3 separate regions of the Homo sapiens genome follow, and all the other regions are linked to region 2. The links are contacts of gene promoters, found by promoter capture Hi-C in human tissues and cell types (Jung and others, 2019). All regions are on one chromosome and are shown on one strand. Each heading gives the region's core, a stretch centred on a gene start or on the middle of the fragment in contact. The rest is flanking DNA. Distances are from core to core; before and after follow the strand shown. Region 1 overlaps MED15 (mediator complex subunit 15). Region 2 holds the start of SCARF2 (scavenger receptor class F member 2). Region 3 has its middle 20 kb from the start of ZNF74.

Region 1 (3,606 bases), core at 974-3,473, 110 kb before region 2:
TACACGGATGTCTGAGGTAAAGTCTTATTTCAGAGAAGCATCCTTGTCTTCTGCTGAAGTGCCCATCCTTCTGGCAGGGCAGCCTGGAAGGGGCAAAGCCCCGGCTCCGTGCCCTGCTCACCCAACCTTCCTCCTGAGTCACTGTGACACTCAGAGTCCATCCACTACACTCATAAGATGGCAGGGCAGAGGGAAGGATGATGAAAAGTGGTCTCAGATGAGTGTAAAAATACAAAGACACTTTTGAAATCTTTATCATCCCACATCTATCTCCAAACTCTACCCCACTTCTTTTTTTCAGCTCGGGGAATTAGCACAGGACAACATGAAGAAGAAAGGCCCAGGGGAGAGGAAAAGCTGGGATAAGCAGCGAGGCCTGGCCAGAACAAGGGGACACCAAGGCAGTTCTGTCAACACGCCCAGCTTCCGGCTATCCCCATCAATTACTGATAGGAAAGCTGATGTGCGTGTGAAGGGGGCCCACAGGCAGCCTGTCCCTGAAGGACAGTGGTATGAGAATGGGGGCAATGGAGGTGTGGGAACCTGAGGACACTCAGGAACAGAAGCAAGGTGGCCATGTATGAGGGGAGAAGGGCCTGGGGGCCAGCCAGGTCAACACCTCACAGCTCCTAAGGCCCTGGACCATTTTTTAGGTCTGCGATACTTTAAATGAATTTGTTTTCTCCACATCCATAAAAGGTAAAACAAGGGGAAGTAGGTTTCAAAAGCAACAAGATACTTTTACTTAGACATAAGACACTCAAACAAGGCTCAGGACCATGTCACCAAAGCCCTTCTGCATAACACCAGGGCTGAGCAAGACCCACTGCCAGCCCAGCACCTGGAATGCAGTGGGCAGGCATCATCATCCTGCAGTGCCCAGCACCACTCCTGACCCACAGTAGGCGCAGCCACTGCCATCTGCTCCAGCTCTGCTACCAGACCAGCGTGAGGAGGCTTAGTGGGGAGCGGGGAGGGAGGGGACGCCTGATGTGAGAAACAAGCACAGGAAGCTGTCATGCTGCCAGCCAAGGAGCTTTCTTGTGGGCGATGATACTTCCTACATTCCCCCAAAGGCAGGTTTATCTAGGAACATCTAGGGGCTGAACGCAATGGGTCAACCACAACAACTCCTTTCCAGGGGAGAAAGCCCTGGATCTGAAACTGCGCCTCTGATCCCCCTGGCTGGGCTCTTTCACTCCTGACTCCTCACCATCCACCCCCACCCCCATCCAGATGGACAGATTATTATGCCCCTTTCTGCTCCAAAGCACACCAACTCCCCTAGAACTGCTGCAGAAAAAAGGGCTAAAGAGTCAGGAAACTCCCTATCTTCACTTGGTCTGCTCCAGCTCCCCTGCTGGCTATCAAAATATAAGTGTCCAGCTGTACCTGAGGCTGAGTATTACAAACCATAAACAATGAACATCATGACAGTAACAGCTAGCACTTGGCACTTTACAGTGCCAGACACAGGAGTCATCAATTCACATGCATTATCGCCTTGATTTCTCCCAACCACCCAGAGGCAGGTACTACTAACACATCCAGTTTACAGATAAGAAAACAGAAACCTTAAAAAACTCCATAGAGGCCAATCGTGGAGGCTCACATCTATTATTCCAACATTTTGGGAAGCCAAGGCAGGAGGGTCCCTTGAGGCCAGGAGTTTAAGACCAGCCTGGGCAACATAGTAAGACACCATCTCTACAAAACAAACAAACAAACAAACATTACCCTGGTGTGGTAGCACACGCCAGTGGCCTCAAAGTGGGAGGCTGAGGCTTGAGCCTGGGAGATCAATGCTGCAATGAGCTGTGACCACTCCACTGCACTCCAGCTTGGGCGACAGAGTGAGACCCCACCTCAAAAAGTTAAAAGCTTCATAGAATTTCCACACTTGCTTGACATGTGGAAATCTTGCACAAGTGCCTCACAACATATTGTGGAGTGAACACAAGGAAGGAGAAAGGATAGAAACACGTGCTCCGTGCCACATACACTGCATGACATACACCTTTTATATAAGACCTGTGGAACGTAAACACACATATTTGCTTAAATCTGCCATGAGAAACACTGGAAAGATACACCAAAATTGAAAATCGACAACCCAGCAAGTATCAGGAACTGGGCTGGAAATGTGCCCTCTCTAAATCCACAGTGTTATGGGTTTTCACTTCAGAAGCACATAAATCTTTTACTATTGAGAAGATAAAGCCAAATCAAGTCGGGCACCTTGGCTCACACCTGTAATCCCAGCACTTTGGGAGGCCAAGACAGGAGGATCACCTGAGGACAGGAATTCAAGACCAGCCTGGCCAACATGGTGAAACTCCATCTCTACTAAAAATACAAAAAAAATTAGCCAGGCCTGGTGGCGCATGCCGGTAATCCCAGCTACTTGGGAGGCTGAGGCAGGAGAATTGCTTGAACCCAGGAGGCAGAGGTTGCAGTGAGCCGCGATCACGCCACTGCACTCCAGCCTGGGCAACAAGAGTGAAAACTCTGTCTCAAAACAAAAAACAAAAAACAAAAAAAACAAATCAAAGCTAGGCACAGTGGCACAGTCTTGTAATCCCAGCTACTTGGAAGGATAAAGTAGGAGTATTGCTTACACCCAGGAGTTCAGCCTGGGCAACTCAGGGGCAACTCAGTGAATTTTATTTCTCTAAAAAATATATATATTTTTTGAGATGGGGTCTCACTCTGTCGCCCTGGCTGGAGTGCAGTGACGCGATCATCGCTCACTGCAGTTTCAACTTCCTGGGCTCAAGTGAGCCTCCCCACCTCAGCCTCCTGAGCAGCTGGGACTACATGCATGCAGTACCATGTCCAGCTAATTTATTTATTTATTTATTTTTATTTTTTAGATGGAGTCTCACTCTGTGGCCCAAGCTGGAGTGCAGTGGTGCAATCTCAGTTCACTGCAAGCTCCGCCTCCCGGGTGGTGCAAGCTATTCTCCTGCCTCAGCCTCCCAAGTAGCTGGCACTACAGGCGCCTGCCACCACGTCTGGCTAATTTTTTGTATTTTTTAGTGGAGACGGGGTTTCACTGTGTTAGCCAGGATGGTCTCGATCTCCTGACCTTCTGATCCGCCCACCTCAGCCTCCCAAAGTGCTGACATTACAAGCGTGAGCCACCACGCCTGGCCAATTTTTTGTATTTTTTGGAGAGACACGGTTTTGCCATGTTGGCCGGCTTGTCTTTTGCTCAGTCCCCAACCTCCAAAAGTGTTGGGATTACAGGTGTGAGTCACTGTAGCCAGCCTAAAATATTTTTCTAAAATGAAAAGTATAGCAAATCTAAAGAAAAAGGTCCAATTCCTAAACATTCCAAATAAACTAAAACAAATGAGCTGAATATTAAGTTGGTGGCAGAATCATATAGAGAAAAGAAATCTTTTGAGAGGCTTTTTAAAAAAATGAAACAAAAAGCAAAATGTTCTCAATAAAAGGGATACATTTTAAGGACAATTAGAACTTCAAGGTAATCTTAAATGTTTAGTCTACCTTTTGTTATCAGTGGTAATATAAACTGTTTATTCTGAAATGATTTTAAAGTAAAGCAACCAAGTATGCTAATAATATTAGAAACCAAGATAT
Region 2 (3,870 bases), core at 880-3,379:
GGCTAGGCTCTTGGTCCCTGCTTTCATGCAAAACCCTCCTCAGCCTTCAAAGTCCACTTCCTTCTGGCAGCCATCCTGGCCAAAACCAGCAGGCCAGGGCTCCGGGCTCCAGCAGTTTGCCTGCGTGGTGGTCAATTGTCTGTGGGTTCCTTCTACATCCTAGTGCCATGTGGATGATCCTTCATTCCTCCCATACTTCTCAGTCTTCCCCTAGGGGTGCAGTGGTGGTTGGGAGAAATGAGGGCTCTGCCCATGACACCCAAAGTTGCCATCTACTGCAAGGGATGTATGTACCGGGTCGTGAGGTGAGACTGGGGATGGTCCTCATCCTGAGAGCAGTGGTGGATAGCCACATGTGAGATTAAAAAGACTACTCTGGGTGGCAGACAGGGGTGGGCAGAGATCTAAGACATTTAGGAGGTCCTGGGGGATTGGGGGGCACCATCCAGGTGGTGCCCTCCCTGGACAGGTCTGGGGGAAGGAGAAAGGTGATGGAATTTGATATGCCTATTCATGACCTCCATCCAGCTGAGGTGAGTGTCCCCTCCAGCCCAGGGGGTCAGTGCCTCTAAAGCCAGGAGCTGGGCTGGGACAGACCTTGCAGCCACTGGGACCTCTGCTGGCCTCTATTGGGAGCCGCAATCCGGATCCTCCGTGGGAGGGGCCCCAGCACTGGGAGGGCATTGCTGAGGTCAGGGCTGTGCCCAGGCTGAGCTGCCCAGAAGTGGTTGGCCTGTTTATTTGTCCCCAGGTAGTTGCATTCGTGTCCACACTAGTTCCACTTCTCTTTCAGCCCACCCCACCTCCCTCCTGCACCAGCATGGCTGAGTGAGGGGCCTGCTCCTCCCCATCCCACTCTCTGCCTGTGCCAGCCTGGTGATGCCCATGGCCTTGGGCCTTTCAGTGGCTCCTCCTCCAAGCCCCCTCCTCCAGCCCCACCCTTCGGGGCTATCTGGCCACACCTGGACAGAGTCTGCCTGCCCTCCCTCAGTGAGCCTGTGGGCCGCATGTGGCCTGCTCCCCAAAGAACGGAGGTGCCCGCTCCCTGCTTAGGCCTTCTGCCAGCTCTCAAGTCCCCAAAAGACAAACATCCTCACTAGGACCTGGCTACACACGGGACATTTGTGCTCCCTGCCCAACTTCCAGAGTCGGTCTGCCCCAGTTGCCCCCCGGGGACCCGCACCCTGCTGCCTCCCAGTCCAAGTCCAGCTTCCCCGCTGGCTCCCTAGGGCCTGTCCCTCTGTCTTGCTCCCTTCCCACACCTTCCTTCTGCTCTGTGCTGTTACCCACCTTACCTGATGCAGGAGTTCCCACTCTCTAGCCCCAGCCTCTCCTGGAAATCCGACAGCCAGCAGAATCCACCGCCCAGGCTCCCCCAGCCCCCTTCACTCCTCAACTAGGACTGCAGGGTTTCCATCCCGGGGGTCTCCTTCTGTCTTTACCTCTACTTCCTACCGCAGTCCACAGCCTGGCCATTCTACTTCCTCTGTATCTCTCCCATCCGTCCCTACGGAGACCCCTTCCCCCAGGCCTCTGGTCCGGACCGAGTCTACCACAGGCCTCAAGCATCCTGCTCGGTCCGCCCCTTGCGAGCTCTGAGTGCGCAGGAGTGCGCAGGGGGAGCTGACCGCACACCCCAGCACTACAAGGACTTCGCGGTGGGGTGCTGTGGAGTTGGCTTTCGGCCTCGACCTGGGCTGTCTGCGGGCCCCACTCCCTTGGCCGGTTCCGAGGCGCTGGGAGCGGGGGTGGGCTTGCGGAGTCGCGTCCGTGTCCCCGATCCGCCTTCCCGTCCCGGGCCTGGCCTACGCAGTGGGCGCGCAGGGGCGGCTGCTTCGGTAGATGTCTAGGGAGCGGAGGGAAAGGCGCGGGAACCGGGGATTCCTCGGGCGGACCCTCCCTCCACCAGCGCTCGGCGGGCCTCCTCCAAGTTCGCCCCCAAGTTTGCGAGCGGCCAAATGGGGGCGGGGGCTGCGCGGAGGGGCGGTGGCTAGGCCGGAGGGTGGGGTCTGGAGCGCGGGGCGGGCGCTGCCGCCTGGCCGGCCGCGGCTGGCCCGGGATCAGGGAGCCGATGTGGAATTTCCTGCCCGGCTCGGCGCCCCTCCTGCCGCCCCCCGCCCGGCCTCGCACTCCGCTTCCGGCCGCTCTCGCTGCGGCCGCACCCGCGCCCGTGCCCGCCCCGCGCCTGCCCCGCGCCTCATGGAGGGCGCAGGGCCCCGGGGGGCCGGGCCGGCGCGGCGCCGGGGAGCCGGGGGGCCGCCGTCACCGCTGCTGCCGTCGCTGCTGCTGCTGCTGCTGCTCTGGATGCTGCCGGACACCGTGGCGCCTCAGGAACTGAACCCTCGCGGCCGCAACGTGTGCCGTGCTCCCGGGTAGGAGCCGGCCTGGCTGGGGGAGGGGGCGAGAGGGACGCTCTGGGCAGTGGTGTGGCGGCGCCGGGCATTGGGAGGGGGCTACCGGAACCTTCCTACGCCAAGTGTGGGCCCCTTCGGCTCCCTAGCCAGCGCGGCTCCGTTCCAGGCCCAGCCTCGGCCATGGGCCACGACAGTGCATCCCAGGGAACCCTGGACGAGAAGTCACCTGAGGGGAGGATGGAGTGCCGTGGGCACCCAGGGGATGACACGCGTTGTCCGGGATATCAGGAAAGACCTGGAAAAAGGGACCCTTGACCGAGTTGTGAAGTCCACGGGGAAAAGCTGGGGAAGGGCATTCAAGCCAAAGGAACTGCATGTGCTAAAGCCCCGCACTAGTCCGACTGGAGCCGGGAGTGGGAGTGAGGAGGAAGGTCAGGGGAGGAGGAGCGGTGCTAGCCGGGGAGGTCCTGGAGCAAGCCAGACTTGGAAAGACAGATTCGCGTCTTAGAGCGGGCGCGGGTGGGAGGGTGGTGACCCAGGCGAGCGTCGAGGAGCCGGCGCTCGAAGTGGACCAGAAGCGGGAGGCGGAAGGACTATGACAGGCACAGGGGACCGGAGGATGTGGGAACCCTGGCGACAACCAGGTGGGGATTCTGGGTGCAAGAAGGGGCCGCGCAAATGTGGGGCGCCGGCTGGGGAAGCCAGTGTGGGACAGGCAGGCGACAGGCCCGGCCGGTGGGGGGGCGAGTCCGGGAGTTTGCACGGAGGGCAGAGAGGTGAGCCCCGGACGCCAGGAGTTAGGAGCTGGGGTCGGGGGAGCCGGTGGGCTGGCCAAAGGCCACAAGGTCAAGGGCATCTCCACGCAGGGGTGAGGAGCGGGCGTGTGGGGGCGCCTTGGCGCGGATTGGAGACGCCGCACGGGCTGGCAGCCGCAGAGGCGGCCGCCGGGCTCCGAGCTGGGTCGCGTCGGGGCGCCTGAGCCACGGACCCGGGGCAAGCCGAGTCCAGGGGCTCGGCGCCAGAGACAAGGGGCTGCGAGGGGGCAGCGCGGGGTTTCCGAACTCTGGTCCGGAGGCGCGCAGACCCCTCCCCGCTGCGAGCCCCGCCTCCGGGGCGGGGGCCGGCCTGGCCCGCCATCTGCTTCGCATCGATGCCGCCGCCGCGGACTCCCGGGCCTCCCCGGCCCCAGGAATGCAGCGGCGGCGGCGGGCGGGGCGGTGCCTGGAGAGGGGGAGGGCGCGATCGCCGTGGTCTCTGTCTACTCACTCCAGCCCTCTTTCCCAGACAGGCCCGGGACCAGGAATGGGGGTCCGGTGCCAGGCTCTAGCTGTCCGGAGCCTGAGAGCCCTTTGCTCCCGCTCCCCTGGTCTGCAGACCTCCCAGGAGGCGCCTGCTCCAGGAACCGAGCCTGGGTTTGGGTTCCCATCCTGGTGCCACCCTACCCAGCTGTGTGGACCTGGGCAAGTCATTTGACCTCTCTGGGCCTGTCTCCACCTCTGTAAAATGGGATAGTGAT
Region 3 (3,765 bases), core at 1,050-3,549, 65 kb after region 2:
GGAGAAGCGTCCCTTTCCAGATGCTTCTGCTGCTGGAGAAGATGCAGGACAGCCGGCAGAAAGCAGTGTGGCCCCTGGAGCTGGCCTACTGCCTGCAGAAGTACAACGTGCCCCGTAAGATACCCTCCCACTGGGTTCCTGGCTGCTGATCCAAAGGGGATGGGAAGCTTAGAGAGTGAAGAGAGGAACTAATGGGCAGTGAAGCAACAAGAAGCAAGTTAGGTAGCCTGGACCCCTCAGATTATAGAGACATTTGTGTAAGAGGCACACATCTTTGGAGGTGCAGAATTGATATTATTTATGGACATTTTACTTCCATACCTAACCTTTCTCTGCCTCTCAGTAGAGTAGGTGAAGGCATCTCCTCCAAGCTTATTCCACCACAGTTAGGGAACTGCAGGAAAACAGAATAAAGGAATAAAAAAGAGAAAACATGTTCTACAAAATAATTCACAAATAGGTCAGGTTTTTTTTTTAGATAGCTATATTGGGATGTGCATCACATACTGTAAAATTCATCCATTTAAAAACATACAATTCAAAGGTTTGTAGTGTATTCACAGAGTTGTGCCTCCATCATCACAATCTAATTTCATAACATTTTCATCACCCCCAGAAGAAATCCTACACTTACGGGTTTTCCCTTGTGTATAATACATTGCTTTTCTCTTGCTGCTTTCAGAATTCTTTGTCTTTAACTTTTGAAATTGATTATGATGTGTCTTGATGTGGGTTGCTTTAGATCAGTCTTATTGGTGTCCTTTGGGCTTCCTGGATGTGGATTTGTATTTCCTTCCCTGGGTTGGGAAGTTTTCAGTCATTATAGGTATGCGTTGCTTACCAACAGGGATACGTTCTGAAAATGCATCAGAAGGTGAATTTGTCATTGTGTGGACATCATGGAGTGCACTTACACAAACTTAGATGGGACAGCCTACTACACAGCTAGGCTGCATGCTATGGCCACTGTGCTCATGCGGTCTGCCATTGACTGAAATGTTGATCTGCAACTCGTGACTGTTATTTCTTTGGATAAGCTTTCCATCTCTTCTCACTCTCCTCCTTCTGGGACTCTGATAATGCCTATTTTGGTCGGCTTGATGTCCCCTAACTCTCTTAAGATATCTTCACTCTTTTTCATTCTTTTTCATTTTTGCTCCTCTGAATGATTTCCAGTGACCTATCTTCTAGTTTGCTAATCCTTTCTTCTGCTTGATTTAGTCTGTTGAGCTTCTCTTTTGAGCTCTTATTTCAGTTATTGTATTCTTCAGCTCTATTATTTCTTTTGAACTTTTTTCTGTCTCTTTGCTGAAATTCTTACTTTGTTCATGCATTGCTGTCCTAGACATGGTAAGCATCTTCATGATCATTATTTTGAATTGTCTGTAAGGTAAGTCACTTATCTTCATTTCACCGGGGGCATTTTCTGGAGATTTATCTTGTTCTTTTGCTTGGAACAGATTTCTCTGTTTCTTCATTGTTCTTGATTCTCTGTTATTTTCTGTACTTTAGTTAAGAAAAATACCTCTCCCAGGCTGGGCATCATGGCTCACACCTGTAATCCCAGCACTTTGGGAGGCTGAGGCGGGTAGATCATGAGGTCAGGAGATGGAGACCATCCTGGCTAACACGGTGAAACCCTGTCTCTACTAAAAATACAAAAAATTAGCTGGGCGTGGTGGCGGGTGCCTGTAGTCCCAGCTACTTGGGAGGCTGAGGCAGGAGAATGGCGTGAACCTGGGAGGTGGAGTTTGCAGTGAGCCGAGATCGAACCACTGCACTCCAGCCTGGGCCACAGAGCGAGACTCCGTCTCAAAAAAAAAAAAGAAAAATACCTCTCCCAGTCTTGTCCCACGGGCCTTGTATAAGAGACGAACTTACCAATTAGCCCTGCCAGACACTCGGAGCACCTCTTGACCTTTTGTGTTGTCCAAACTGTCATCTATGTTCTTAGCGGCCCTCAGGAGATTAGAATGTGTCATGTCCTGTCAGTGCCCCAGACAGGGGAGATAGAAACCAGCCCCTTGAGGTGCAGCTGGAGACGTTGGGGCATTAAATGTGTGTTCCAGTTTATTCTATCCTCAGGGAAAAGCTGGGAGCATGAGTTTATCTGCCACTCGCTCTGCAAAATGCTGGAGAGAGGATCTGTGGCAAGTGCCTGCACTCAAGTTTAAACTGCACACTCCTTCATGCATTGTTTTACTCTTTGTCACCCCCAGGGGCCTAGCAAATGCTGGCTGTTCTCTGCTTAGAGACGGACAGGTTAGTTGGAAGCTTGACGCTATCTGTTGAGCAAACCAGTGGGAGCAGCTGTGGAGGTGCTCACCTGCCTGTTCAGGGTCTCAGAGGAGCACTGGTTTCCTGCTCTGTCAGCTCCCAGATGCATAGAAACCCCAGGGCAGCAGCTGCACTGTGCAGACAAACTCCTTCTAGGGAGAAAGTAGGAGCCGGGCCTTTTTGCCTGTTCACGCTGCACTGGGCCTGGGGGGATGTTCTTTGGTCTCTGTGCCCCTGTGGGACTTACAAATACAGAGCCTTGTCAGCTCCCAAAGCTCGGTGGTTGAGGAGCTAGACCTTCATTTGAGAGGGGTAAATGTGTACTCAATGTGTGAAGTTAGAGACCTGATTTTACCATACAGCAGGGGGTGGGAGAAGGCATGGGACTTGCCCACAGGCCTGTCCAGACTCCTGGAAATCTATTGTTTACCTGCCTCATTGGCTCCAGGTGCAGGCCAGTTATTAATAGAAGCCCATCCCTCGGGCAACAGCTAGGAGAGCCCGCAGACATATCCTTCCAGGGAGGAACTGGGAGCCTGGCATTTCTGCCTGTTTGCTCTGTGCTGAGCACAGCTGCTGGAAGTGCTCACGTGCCCGTTTAAAACTGCCTCTTTGTCCTCTGTGGTCGCAGAGGATTCATAACTGCTAACCCATGTCTGCTCCCAGAGCTAGGTGACCCAGCAGCCAAGCCCTTGAGTGGGAACTGCAAAAGCTGGGGCTGCCTATGTGTGGTCCAAACCCTCCCCTCTCCAGGAGAAAGCTGGGAGTAGGGATTCCTTCCTCACAGTAAGGTACTGTGTCTGGGGTGGGGCTTGTGGTTCGAGTGTGTCTCAGCTTTTCCAACCGGTTGCGATGTGGGTGTTCTCCCCATTGCCCCCTGTGCAGGCCTCTCTCAGCTGGTTTCTGGGTTTCTTTCAGAGGGAGTTGATCTGTGTGTAGATGAGAGTTTTACCGTGTGTCCATGGGAGAAGGGGAGCACCAGGAGCCTCCTTCTCTACCATCTCGCTTGTGTCACCCTCTGTGATTCTTTTTATACATAGTTGAATTTGATTCACTAATATTTTGTTGAGGAATTTTGCATTTATGTTCACGGGAGATACTGGTTTTTAGGTTTTTTTCTTACAATGTCTGTCTGGTTTTGGTGTTAGGATAATGCTGGCCTCAGAGAATGAGTTAGGAAGTGTTCTCTCTGCTTTTGTCCTCTGGAAGAGGTTGTAGGGAATTGGTATAATTTTTCCCATAAATGTTTGGTAGAACCCATCGTTCACTAGTGAACCCATCTGGGTGTAACTGAGTACTCCCATTTTCTAAGAGATAGTTATATTAGTTTTCTTATTACTTTCTTTTCACTTCTCCTCTTCCCATCCCTCACCCCTCACCGCGGCCGTGTTTCCTGTTTCCTGTTAGCCCTTTAGAAATGCAAATATCACCTTTCGCCTACCCCTCTCCAGACATTCCCTGCTGGGCAAAAGGAAGAATCTGTAAATG

Evidence for each region. The method cuts DNA at HindIII sites, captures the fragments that hold promoters and counts their contacts. A contact is called where the count stands out against the background at its distance.
Region 1: a contact is called between a fragment that was not itself captured here and the fragment with the promoter of SCARF2 in region 2, in 2 of the 25 tissues and cell types used here (lymphoblastoid cells and mesenchymal stem cells).
Region 3: a contact is called between a fragment that was not itself captured here and the fragment with the promoter of SCARF2 in region 2, in 2 of the 25 tissues and cell types used here (liver and lymphoblastoid cells).

Annotation. Positions count from the first base shown.
Region 1 is chr22:20,547,087-20,550,692 of GRCh38, reverse strand. The region is part of intron 2 of MED15 (mediator complex subunit 15); the gene reads right to left. Among named protein-coding and RNA genes, the nearest start is that of MED15, 41 kb to the right of the region's middle. RefSeq lists enhancers at 470-1,460, 3,200-3,369. The HindIII fragment of the contact is 3,773 bases long and covers 337-3,606 here.
Region 2 is chr22:20,436,084-20,439,953 of GRCh38, reverse strand. It overlaps SCARF2 (scavenger receptor class F member 2), which reads left to right and starts at 2,129. Exons shown (of 11, transcript NM_182895.5): 1 at 2,129-2,372. The coding sequence starts at 2,200. LOC107985588 (a long non-coding RNA gene) reads right to left here and starts at 1,958. Exons shown (of 2, transcript XR_001755623.2): 1 at 1,443-1,958. The HindIII fragment of the contact is 17,878 bases long and covers 1-3,870 here.
Region 3 is chr22:20,371,839-20,375,603 of GRCh38, reverse strand. It overlaps the pseudogene USP41P. Among named protein-coding and RNA genes, the nearest start is that of ZNF74, 20 kb to the left of the region's middle. RefSeq lists a cis regulatory region at 2,219 and an enhancer at 2,135-2,304. The HindIII fragment of the contact is 3,190 bases long and covers 705-3,765 here.